Regions from separate parts of the Homo sapiens genome. Here region 2 is linked to region 1. The links are contacts of gene promoters, found by promoter capture Hi-C in human tissues and cell types (Jung and others, 2019). All regions are on one chromosome and are shown on one strand. The core of a region is centred on a gene start or on the middle of the fragment in contact, and the rest is flanking DNA. Distances in the headings are between cores, read along the strand shown. Region 1 holds the start of NPHP3 (nephrocystin 3). Region 2 overlaps TMEM108 (transmembrane protein 108).

Region 1 (6,025 bases), core at 1,130-3,629:
CTACCACAAATAAAGACCAACATTAAGCTTTCAATGGAAATTAACTTTTTTTGAAACACTGCATCAGCTCTTAAACTTCCTTATGCCTTTTCCATCTTTGTGATAGTAAAAATTACATTTTGTAAGGCTTAACTTGAAGGATAAGTAGTTCTAAGAGACTGTGTGCCTGTTGGCACTATGTCTTATTCATCTCACCATCCCTTGAGCACTTCACAGTGCCTGGTACACTGCAAGTCTCCAGTAAATGTCTGACACAATGAATGAAATAAATATGGATAAGTTTTTTCATGCCTCGATATGTGAGAAAGGAACCAGTATGTTTCACAGGGAATCAGGATTGGTGACATGAGTGACTGTGACACTTGCCAACCCTTATTGCACTCCGCCCTGTTTGGTTTGGCCTTTTCTACCCCCACCTCACAGTTGTTTCCAACGTGCGGTGTCTGTTGGGCAGTGGCTTGGATACATTGAATCAGATATTTGAAATGCACTAGTCCATTTTATACATGCAAGTGCATTAAGGTTGCCCAGTAGGAAAACTGATAAGACAACAGATAAACTGCTACACGGACTTCTTCCCAGACAACGACAATAATTACACAACAGCTAATGAGGGAGTTTAAAAACAAAAACAACAACAACAACAACAACAAAACCTGACTAGAAGAATGTCTAGTCTTGAAGACAGGAGGCTTTTTTTCTTTTAGAAAAATCAGTCTGAGGTATTTATTTCACCCCGACTGTAACGACTCCGGGAACTCTTAGGCTGCCTATAAGTCTCTCCCACAGTAAAGAGTACACAAACGACACAACAACGACCAGAGGGGCCCCAAACTGAGGGCAAAAAGTTTTAGAGATTCGTTCACAGAAAAGCAACCTCTTGCTTTATACTATTTTTTTTTTTTTGATACGGAGTCTCGCTCTGTCACCCAAGCTGGAGTGCAATGGTGCAATCTCGGCTCACTGCAACCTCCGCCTCCCGGGTTCAAGCAATTCTCTTGCCTCAGCCTCCTGAGTAGCTGGGATTACAGGCGCGTGCCACCATGCCCGGCTAATTTTTGTATTTTTAGTAGAGACGGGGTTTCACCATGTTGGCCAGGCTGATCTCGAACTCCTGACCTCAGGTGATCCGTCCGCCTAGGCCTCGAAAAGTGTTGGGATTACAGGCGTGAGCCACCACGCCCGGCTGCTTTACATACTATTTTATTGAATTATAATGGACCTGCTACATGGAGGGCATGCAATAATTGCTTTTAGCGTAAATTAATCAAATGGACTAGGGAAATTTGACTACATCTAGAGAAGGTTTTCAACCATGGTGAGATCAGGAGGCTTCCAGAAATTTTCATGTCAAGACCATTAAAATGCAAGAGCGATGAAACTTTACAAAGAAACCGACACTTGAGCCCCACTTTGGAGACCCACTTAAAATTTTTATGGTGGGGAGGGGGGTGAAACTCCTAGGAAGAGTTTGCTGAGTTGCTTCAACAGATGTCACCAGCCTTCTGAGGGGGTGGGCGCGGGGGCGGCAGTGGAGCTGGAGATTGGCATTTGCCTCCTCAGGACACTTTCCGGCTAATTTCTTCTAGGTGCCTCAATGAATAAACCAGAAATAGAAAAGCGGGGACCAGGCGCGGTGGCTCACTCCTGTAATCCCAGAACTTTAGGAGGCCGAGGCGGGAGGATCATTGAGCCCAGGAGTTCCAGGTTGCAGTGAGCCGCGATCGTGCCACCGCAGCGAGACCCTGTCTCCAAAAAAAGAGACAGAAAAAGGGGAGGGTTAAGGAATCATTTCAGACTCGAAGAGAATATGGCCTCTCAAATTAAAATGGGCAGTTTCCGCCGAACTTTCAAAGCCGCTTGGTTTGGAGAGGGAGCAGGACGGCCGTGCTTCCCAAGGGTCTCCCGGCGTCGCGGCCCAGCCCGGCGTTACCTGCAGTTCGGCCCGCAGCCGCTTGTTCTCCGTGTCCAGCTTGGCCTCGCGGCGGCCCATGGACAACAACTCCTGGTTCTTGCTGACGCGAAAGATCTCGTACTCCTTCCTGAGCCGCTCGTACTCGGCCGCCGCGTACTCCAGCTCTGGCACCGACGAGCCAGTGGACTTGAAGCTGGCCCCCAGCAGCCCGCCCGCGCCCACCCCGCGGGGCAGCGACCCGGGCCCGGCCCCTGCTGCCGCCCCCGCGCCTCGGCGGAACGAGTTGCGCAGCAGGCGGGCCTTGGGCTTCACCTCCACCGGGATCTCGCAGGCCTCGCCGCCGCCCGCCCCGTACGTGTCCTCGATCACTTCCCCGCCCGCGGGGCTCACGAGCGACGAGGCGGTCCCCATGGCGTCCGTTGCCGCTACTACCTAGTGAGTACCAGCAGGACTGGGCAGCGGAACGGAACGGGACGGGGTGGGGCAGAGGAACGGAACGGGACGGGGCGGGGCAGAGGAACGGAACGGGACGGGGCGGGCCAGCGGGATGGAGCGGGGCCGGAGAGCAGGACTGGGCGGAGCAGCGGGACGGGGCGGAGCAGCGGAACGGGGCGAGGCGGGGGAGCGGGATGGGGCGGGGAAACAGGAGGGGCGGGGCAGCAGAACTGGGCGGGGCGGGGGTGCAGGACGGGGCGGGGGAGCAGGACGGGGCGGGGCAGCGGAACGGGGCGGGGCGGGGCCGGAGAGCCGGACGAGGCGAGGCAGCGGAACGGGGCGGGGAGGGAGAGCGGAAGGGGGTGGGGCAACTGGAGGGGCGGGGCAGCGGAACGGGACGGGGCAGCGGAACTGGGGGGATGGGCGAGGGGGACGGGGCGGGGCAGCAGGGCTAGGCGGGACAACAAGAGGGGCCGGGCAAGTGGGGCGGGGCATGTGGGCGGGGCAGGGCAAACGGGGGTGGGTCGAGAAAGCACACAGGGCCAGGCGGGCTAGCAAGAAGGGCGGGGCTAGCAGGAAGGATGGGGGGAGTGGCGACTGTGCAGGACCAGCAGTGGACCGGACGCTGGTGGAGGGGTGCTCCGAACGCTGGTGGAGTGGTGCTCCGACATAGGGCTTCTCTCCGTTGTCTCCGCCCGGCTCGAGGCTCCCTGGCGGGCGTGCCTCACAGGGAGCACAGGCCTGGGTCCCAGCTGCTCTACAAACGCTGCAGCTATTTCTTTCGCTGCCGCCGTGCCTGACCGGAAACTCCTTTCTGGAAGCAGTTGGGAAATCTGAAAAATTTATGGAGTGCCTGCTATGTGCTTCCCGCGATATCTCTCTCTCAGTATGCATGTAGATAGAATGACCAGCAAGGAATAATGCCAGCAAAGAAAGAGCTTTTAGATTTTACAGTCTGAAACCACCAGGGACAATCCTTAGACAAGGTTAAGTTTTTTAACTCATTGCGGCATGGGACATTGGAGACCGCACACCAGTCTCTCCTTCATTCCCTCCATCAAAGTGGCTAGTCATCTCTTCTCTTACCCTTTAGATTTTCTTCAGGAAGTAGTCATACTAGGCCTTTGCATTCTTCAAAATCCAGAGTGTATATACTAATTTCTTCAGGTGGTCTCCTGAGATAAAGGGAAATATTTCCACCATCACAGTACCTTAAGAACTTTCTACCTTTTCAAATCCGTTCTGATTTCTAACTTCAAATTTTTGAATTCTCCATGTGGATCAGGGGTTTAAGGATCATCCACTAGGTTTCTGACTAAACCCTTTGAACATTTTTGCATCTTAGTACCTCCTTTGGAATGGGCCTCAGCTGAACACTTCCATAACTATGCTTGAGTAAGAAGATAAAATAGCCATCACCCATTCTCTCCAACAAATAACCAAACTCACTATGCTAACTTCCTACAGCTTGGGGAGTACATTCAGATTCTACAGTCTGGAACTGAGTGCTCTGAAGCATGCATCTCTCCTTTCCCCACGTCATTTCTATCCAGTGACATGCCTCTAATCCACATTTCTCCACCCTACTTGCGTACTGATCTTAGATTACTATTGGTCAATGCCAAAGTGACCAAATTTCTTAATCCTAAAAAATGACATTATTTCTTCCTGGCTAACACGGTGAAACCCCGTCTCTACTAAAAATACAAAAAAATTAGCCAGGCGTGGTGGCAGGCGCCTGTAGTCCCAGCTACTCGGGAGGCTGAGGCAGCAGAATGGCGTGAACCTGGGAGGCGAAGCTTGCAGCCGAGATGGCGCCACTGCACTCCAGCCTGGGCGACAGAGCGAGACTACGTCTTTAAAAAAAAAAAAAAGACATTATTTCTAACCTCATAACCTGTTTTTCTTCATGCTGAATTTAACCCACGTACTTCAGTCTGCATTTTGAAAGAATAACTTTTAATACAGAAATATAGTGAGAATAAAATATTTGGCAGGTGGCTTATAACTTACTAAAGATGGCCACATTTTTTTTTAATAGTCCTCCCATAGAAAAGACAGCTAAGACAGCTACACAATTTGTGGGACCCAGTGAAAAATGAATATGTAATGCCCCTTATTCAAAAATTATAAATATTTTCAAGATGGCTACAGCAGAGCATTAAGCCAAGTATGGGGCCCTTTTGAGTTTTGGGCCCTGCGTTACTGCACATGGGGTTGCATGGCCATGAAGCAAGCCTGTATATGACTCCTCACTTTGAACCTGAGTGAACTCTGACCGCTTGGACCAGTGGAATGTGGCAGAAATGACACTGTGCCAGTTTCCAAGCCCAGGTCTTGAGAGAATGGCGACTTCCACTTCTTGTGTCTTGGAACACTCGGGAGTGTTGAGCCACCATGTAAAGACTTACTAACCTGAGACTGCCCAAATTAAGAGGTCATATGTAGGCATTCCAGGTGACAGTCTCAGCTGGGCCCAGCTTTCCAACCAGAGTACCAAGACATGTAAAATGAAGCCATCTTGGACTCTTCAGACTAGTGCATTCACTACTTAGAAATTAAGTGACTTCTGTATACACTACAGGGGAGAAAATCACCCAGCCAACCTCTGCCCACATTTCTGGCCCACAAAATCATGAGATATAATAAAATTACTGTTGGTTTGAGCCATTACATTTTGGTAATTTGTCTTTTCACCTGGAATAAGAAAAAATGTCTCTACATTTGATCGGGCAGCCTATAAATTGATAAACAATGCTACTGTCTTTTTTTTTTTTTTGAGACGGAGTCTCGCTCTCTCGCCCAGGCTGGAGTGCAGTGGCACGATCTCGGCTCCCTGCAACTTCTGCCTCCTGGGTTCAAGCGATTCTTCTGCCTCAGCCTCCCGAGTAGCTGGGATTACAGGCGTGCACCACCACCCCCGGCTAATTTTTTTGTATTTTTAGTAGAGACGGGGTTTCACCATCTTGGCCAGGCTGGTCTTGAACTCCTCACCTCATGATCCACCCACCTTGGCCTCCCAAAGTCCTGGATTAGAGGCCTGAGCCACCGCACCCGGCCTGCCATTTTTTTTTAAATGGGATTGGTAGAATAAATATCATTTGGGTAGAGTAGTGTGTATTTGGTCTTCAGACTATGAATCTCACAATCACTTGGGACATTTGGTAAAAATTTGGGGACCTTGACAATTTTGCATGTTTAGTTACTTCCCAGGTGATGCTTATGTACTTTAGGATCTCAGAACACTGAGACTGCATAAAAATTGTGGCTAGGGATGATCTAATTCCTCGCTACTCAAAGCATGGTCCTCAGGCAGTAGCATCAACATCACCCTGAAGCTTGTTAATCAGATTCTCACATGCTATCACTGACCTCCTGAATCACAATTTGCAGATTAAAAAGATCTCCCAGGTGATGTGAATATAGATTAAAATTTGAGAAGCACTACTGTAGAAAAATGGTTCTTAACCTTGGCTGCACATTACCATCACCTGGAGAACTTAAAAAAATAAAGACTGCTGCCTGGGCCTCACCCTAGACCAATTAGATCAGAATTTCCAGGAGTTGAGGTCTGAACATCATTAATTTTTTAAAGCTCCCCAGCGGATTTTAATCAGTAGTCAAGGTTAAAAACCAATGGTTTCACCTCGGCCATCTCATTATTGCCAACATGTG
Region 2 (6,025 bases), core at 1,598-4,097, 550 kb after region 1:
AAGCTGAGGACAAGTATTTTAGTCTTTTGTGTTTGCTGCTGTATTTCCAGCACCTAGAAAGTACCTGGCACATAGTAGGCACTCGATAAATGTTATTTGAATAAATTTAAGATTCTAAAGGACCTTGAAACCTGTTTAGTATCTTTATTTGGAGATAAACCAATTAAAACCCTGAGAGTTTGTGACGTTCCCTAGGTTGCATAGCTGATCTGCAGAGGCAAGTCTAAAAGGTGAATCCAGATCTTTCTCCTAACCCTGTGTCCTTCCTACCACCTGCTGCTGCTTTTGGCTGCTGGATGGAGCTGGGAAGAAGACTGGAGGCTACTGGTCCTAATCCATAGAAGGGATTTTCTGAGTCCTGCCCAGAAGTAGGCAGGTATCATGAGCATCTTCTGCCCTCAAGAGGATCTTGGCAGTCAAATATGGCTGCAGCCTGGCTCCATTCCTTGGTCATAATCTCCAACTTCTGCTGCCAGGATTTTCTCCCTGTTTTTTTTATAAGACTGCCTGTTCGAAGAATGTACACACACACACACACACACACACACTCACACACTCACACACACACACACCCCTACCCCTCCAGGCTCACTAAAGCAACATACAGCTCTGTCAGGAAAAGGATCATAATCTCAGCCCTCACTCACTCTGGTGCAGCTTGGGCAGAGGGATTGCTAATGAAATTATTGAAGTTCCAAAGCCCCCAAGCCATCCTCTTGACACAACCACTGTTTTGGCACTACCTTCTGTTATTCTTTGGTTTTTGCTACTCCTAGTTACCTCAAATGAACACGCTACCCTGCTTTCAATCCACAAACTCTACCCCAACATCTGGCCAATCTTGCCATGCCCTTCCCCCAACACCATGCCCTCCTCACCATCCCCAAGGGGCCAAAATGGACAATTGTAGAGACCAGGCAAGACTCAGCTCACTGGTTGAGAGAGGAGGTCAAGAGTTCTGCTGTAGAACGGAAAGAGTTGGGAAACAGGAGGAGGACCAGAGAATAGGCAGTGCTTGAAAACCCTGTGGAGGCAAATTGTCTGCGGAGTTGGAAACAACCACAACACATTTGTCCTTAGAAAAATATTAATTTTTTAACCTTTTCAATACTATGTTCAAAACCTCTCTCACAAGGTCCACAAACTTTCCTACTACAAGGCTGTCATTTTTGACTAGGAAAATTTGAATTCAGTATTTCAAAAGTGATTTCTTGGAAATAATTTCTTATGTGGTGTCAAGTCTCTGGAGAAAAATGCAGAAGGTCTTTCTGCCCATTAGATGCTGTTCACGAGAGAGAAATAGCAGGAATTAACAGTATGGTGGCTTCACACGATTGCCCAGATAGTGTGTGAGTTCAGGAAGTGTCTTGTTTGCAGGGAGAGAGTGATTAACACAACAGACGCTGCTCTGACTCTCCTATAGGAGTCAGAGGAGACAAAGCTTGGAGCCTACATTTACAAACTGTCATGAGCCAGCCCCACCTAGAAGCACGCTAAGCTTGTTTTAGTCATCTCATTTCTCTCTAGCCCATGGGCCAACCTTATTCCTGCTTTTTTGCATTTATCTGGGTCTCTACTATGTTTCAGCCTCTGTGCTGGGCTTGTATCAACAAGGCAAAGAGAAATTTTACATGATCTCTGTGTTCAAAGACCTCATGTACTTGATACAGAGGTAAATAGATTAGCAAATAACAGCTATTGACAAAATTAATGAATCAATAAAAATGCATTTAAATTATGTTTTGAGCGCTTAACTCTGCTGTAGGAGCTAAAGGAGGCCTCTTAGAGGAGTTAACAGCTGAGCTTTGTGCCTCACAGTTTCCTTAAGGCTGTGCAGATTCTTGGATTCTCGTCAATAAGGCCAAATAGGATATTCCCTCCCATAAGACTTTTTCTCTTAGGCATCTCATTTGTGTCATCTAACACTTAGGGTAATGGGGCGGAGGGGTATGTGGAGTATCTTGCTCTGACTCAGCCTTATAAGAACACCATACACGTACGTGTGTGTGTGTGTGTGTGTGTGTGTGTGTGTGTGTGTGTTTCCTAAAGGAGGACTTATTTTAATATCTGAGAATAGACTTCTAGGAACTTCCTTGATGTACAGAAATCTCATAGACCCTATGGTCATTACTGCAAAGAATCATCCCATTTTAGAGCTGGCATTTACCTTCTAAATCAACTCATCCTTTTTACAGTTGATGGAGGTTAAAGCCAGGGATGCTAAAGGACTGCCCAAAGTCACGCAGCTAACCACGGGCAGAGCCAAGTCTAGGACCAAGGCCTCAGTTCTATGCAATTTTTATGGTACCTTGCAGGTCCCCCCAAGGGGCACACATCTGTCAGCATAGTGGGATGACTAGGAGCAAGCATTACACTAGGGGCAGGGGTTAGGAGTGATGTATGAGATACTACTGAATCATAGAGCTGGAAGGGCCACTAGAGGTCATCTCGCTTACCTCCTGCATTTTTCTGATGAAGAAAGAGAAGATGGGGAAAGTGAACCTGATCTTCTCAGCCAGGGGAGGTATTGCCCTCTAAGAGGGATATGGAAATGTATGGGACCATTTTTGGCTGTCACAATGACTGGGAAATGATATTGGCACTTAATGGGCAGATGCCAGGGATGCTTAACATATATTGAGTGGAACAGTTCTACCAATGACAAATCACCCAGCCCCAGATGTCAACAGCGTCCGCATTGATAACCATGAAAAGAGCCCCCATTACAGACAGAGAAGGGACCAGGCTCTGAGGTGGTTTGCCCAGTAGTTTGTCATTGTGTGTACATTTAGGGGTGGGTCACAAACCCCTCTGAGAATCAAATAAAAACTTCCTTTTCATAGAAACCTACACATACACAAGAACTTTGCCCTTAATTTTAGTGGGTTAATGAGCCCCTTTAACCCATCAATGAACCACAGGTAAATAACCCTAGTCTTAAAAGAGACTTAAAGGTGGAGAAAATTAAATATGTATGTGTTTTCTTATGGATAAAAATTGTCTTATGATGTGTCCAATGGAATGAAGAGTAAATGTGGGTTTTTTCCCTACCAAGTGAACACAGTGGTATCCAGACTCTTAGATTCTTTCTTTTGTTCATTCATCAGAAGCCTTGGATTTTTATCCATCACTTAAGAAGTATAGCTATTATTTCCTATTGATAGTCAAACTAAACACCACGTCTACCTCCCACACCTTCCTTCCCTTTCTCTCCCCACAGTAAGTACTCAGCAGGACTGACGTAGGAAGCAGGAGTGGGTGCTGACTTCAAAGGGTCCCTCTCCCTGAACTTTGGAGAGTCCCTTCTTCAGGAGTGTGAGTTCTGGGTGAGTGGTGGAAGAACTGCAGGCTTTAAATGCTAGTCAAGGTGTAAATCAGATACTGTGTTTTAAAATGTGCTGAGTAATTTCTGACTCATTAAATCAGTTAAATTACAAAATGCTCCATTTCAAGATGCTCTATTTCATCCATTTGCAACAAGTCATGGCAAACGGAAGAAATAGATTAGCCAATCATGCCTCCATGGTGTTGTTGAAGAGAATAGAGGAGAGGAGAGATGGACGACTCACTACCACTCTGTGAGAGAAGACTTAGGGTCAGGCGTAACAGTCAGACCAAGCAGTCTTATAGGATAGATATTCTTCAAGGGTTTTACATCTCATTTACTCCTGACAGCAATCCTTCGGGGCTTATTTTCTTGTCTATTTTACTAATGAAGAAACTGTGGCTGAGAGAGGTTAAGTACTTTTTCAGTTGAGTCAAAATTCACACCCAGTCCTATGTGACTCCTAGGCCAAGTTCTTTTCACCCCAATGCTTCCCAGCGAGTTTGTATGAACACAGGTAATGCTGCTCTCAAACAGCTAAAATTATCTGCACAGCGGATGCATGCCCCACTGCCTTCCCATCTACAAGATCCATCTCAGATTGTTCTTGGTTATTCCAGTATGCTGAGGACAAGCCTTCTGACTTTGGTTTCATTTTGTTTTGTTTTTCATAAACTGTGCTTCTGTCGAGGCTGTAGAGAATCCTGTTAGGACAGTATGTCGTGATTTAAACTGTGGCTGATGAGTGACTCCCTTCTTTCCTTCTCTTGCCTCAAACCTTTCCTTTCTCTTATGATGGGAGAGACCAAGTGTACTTCTGCATGCACAGTGCCTGGAGGTCTTCCCAAGCCTGGCTTGGAGGTATCAAAAAGGAATCTGTACCTAACTTTCACAGAATGGTTTCCACTTAGCTGGGGGCTTTGTTTTGTCCCCCAAAGTAGCTGGTGACTTTGTTTTGTCCCCCAAAGTGTTTCATTCTTTTTCCCTTGTAGATTTGTTTCTCTGTGAATTTATCTAAAGACAGTGGTGTGCTGTTGGGCAAGAAGTCCTTTCCTACTGCCTCCTGTAGGAGAGCTGTAGTTACTGCTGAACAAATGACAACCTGCCCACTGCAATAATAACAACCATTTCCCTGGGTGACAAGTATCTAATTAAGTGAATGCCTTGGGTCAAGGGGTCATATTTCTGCAGGCAGTGGACCTTTGTACCATTTGCCAGTCAGGGGGTTAGACACATTCCCTACCCTCCCTGCTGGGTGTGAGTTTCTACACCTGAGCCATTGCCAGCAGAGCTGATGAAGGAACTTACCTCAGAGTCTCTAAATGAAGTCCACTGCTCTTAGATCTGCTAAGAAATATCTCAAAACCATTGGTTCCAAGTTGATTGATTGATTTTCCTATTTCCATCAGCAAAAACCATAAATACTCAATTAAACTCTAAAAGTGGTCTTAGAATTCCAACACCAAGTATAGAGGACTTAATTATTTTAATGGGGGAGGGGAAAGAGCGCTAGATCAGGAGTCAGAAGACTAAAGGTTTAGCTCTGACTCTACAACTAACTGCCCACATGACCCCAGTAACTTTCTTATCTAGTTTCCCCAATTGAAAATGGGAGTTTTTTCCTTAGATACTCTTTAAAAGCAGTACTGTCCACTAGAAATATAATAGGAATCACATATGTAATTCTTAATTTTCTGAATTTTAGCAACATTAAAAATAAAAAGCAAGTAAAATTGATTTTAATAATATATTTTATTTAACCAGTATATGCAAAATATTATTTTAACATGTAATTGGATTTTTCACATACATTTTCCATATTAAGTTTTTGAAATTCAATGTGTATTTTACACTTACATTGCATTTAAGTTCAGACTAGACACATTTCAAAGGTTCAGTTTGGCCACATGTGGCTGATGGCTACTGTATTGGATAATGCAGCCTGGACTCTTTTCTGGCTATTAATTTTTTTGTGTATGTCCCAATCCGTTACTTGCAACTCTTGAGGTTAGATGGATAATTTAGAATTTTTTATGTTTTAAAATGAAATACAGTATTTATTATTTATTAATACCCCAGGGGGATCTGGAGCAGCACTCCATGATCAAACAAATAAATATTTCTGTAGCAAAAAGTATGACAATACACACTGAGATAAAGAAAGACAATAAATAGCTTTATATAGGTTGGGTATTGCTGCCAAGTGAGTAACAGGAAAAAAAAACTTTCATTTTTCAGAGGATTTGCCTTTTGAAATTGCAGATAAAGGATTGTGAGTCTGTATCACAAAAACTGTTCAGTATTAGGTTCAGTATTTGCTTAGTTGCTTTATTTGTCAAAAATTGGCCTAGCATTACTATGACAGTGCAGTTGTCCTTTGACTAGCCATGGACGTGGCATTCTGGTTAAATCATCTCCCTTGTTTTGACTCTTAGTAGTGGTAATTGTCTCCAGCAAGCTGAAAGGGTGACCCGTGGAGCCATGGAGACTTAGGATTGCTAGATTAAATATAGGATGCCCAGGTAAATTTGAAATTAAGATAAATAGCAAACACATTTTAAGTGTAAACATGTCCCATACAATATTTGAATTTCATATAAAATTCAAATTTTACTGGGTGTCCTGCATTTTGTTTTAACTCTGGCACCTCTACCATGTTAAAAGCCATTTCAGCAAGTGGTTACTGATTCTTGTGGGGCC

Evidence for each region. The method cuts DNA at HindIII sites, captures the fragments that hold promoters and counts their contacts. A contact is called where the count stands out against the background at its distance.
Region 2: a contact is called between a fragment that was not itself captured here and the fragment with the promoter of NPHP3 in region 1, in 1 of the 25 tissues and cell types used here (H1 embryonic stem cells).

What each region holds. Positions count from the first base shown.
Region 1 is chr3:132,720,030-132,726,054 of GRCh38, forward strand. It overlaps NPHP3 (nephrocystin 3), which reads right to left and starts at 2,380. Exons shown (of 27, transcript NM_153240.5): 1 at 1,934-2,380. The coding sequence starts at 2,326. It overlaps NPHP3-ACAD11 (NPHP3-ACAD11 readthrough (NMD candidate)), which reads right to left and starts at 2,430. Exons shown (of 45, transcript NR_037804.1): 1 at 1,934-2,430. NPHP3-AS1 (NPHP3 antisense RNA 1) reads left to right here and starts at 1,721. Exons shown (of 11, transcript NR_002811.2): 1 at 1,721-2,350. RefSeq lists silencers at 2,037-2,286, 2,387-2,896 and an enhancer at 3,137-3,326. The HindIII fragment of the contact is 5,332 bases long and covers 1-4,918 here.
Region 2 is chr3:133,270,273-133,276,297 of GRCh38, forward strand. All of the region lies in intron 3 of TMEM108 (transmembrane protein 108), which reads left to right. Among named protein-coding and RNA genes, the nearest start is that of TMEM108-AS1, 16 kb to the left of the region's middle. The HindIII fragment of the contact is 6,490 bases long and covers 1-6,025 here.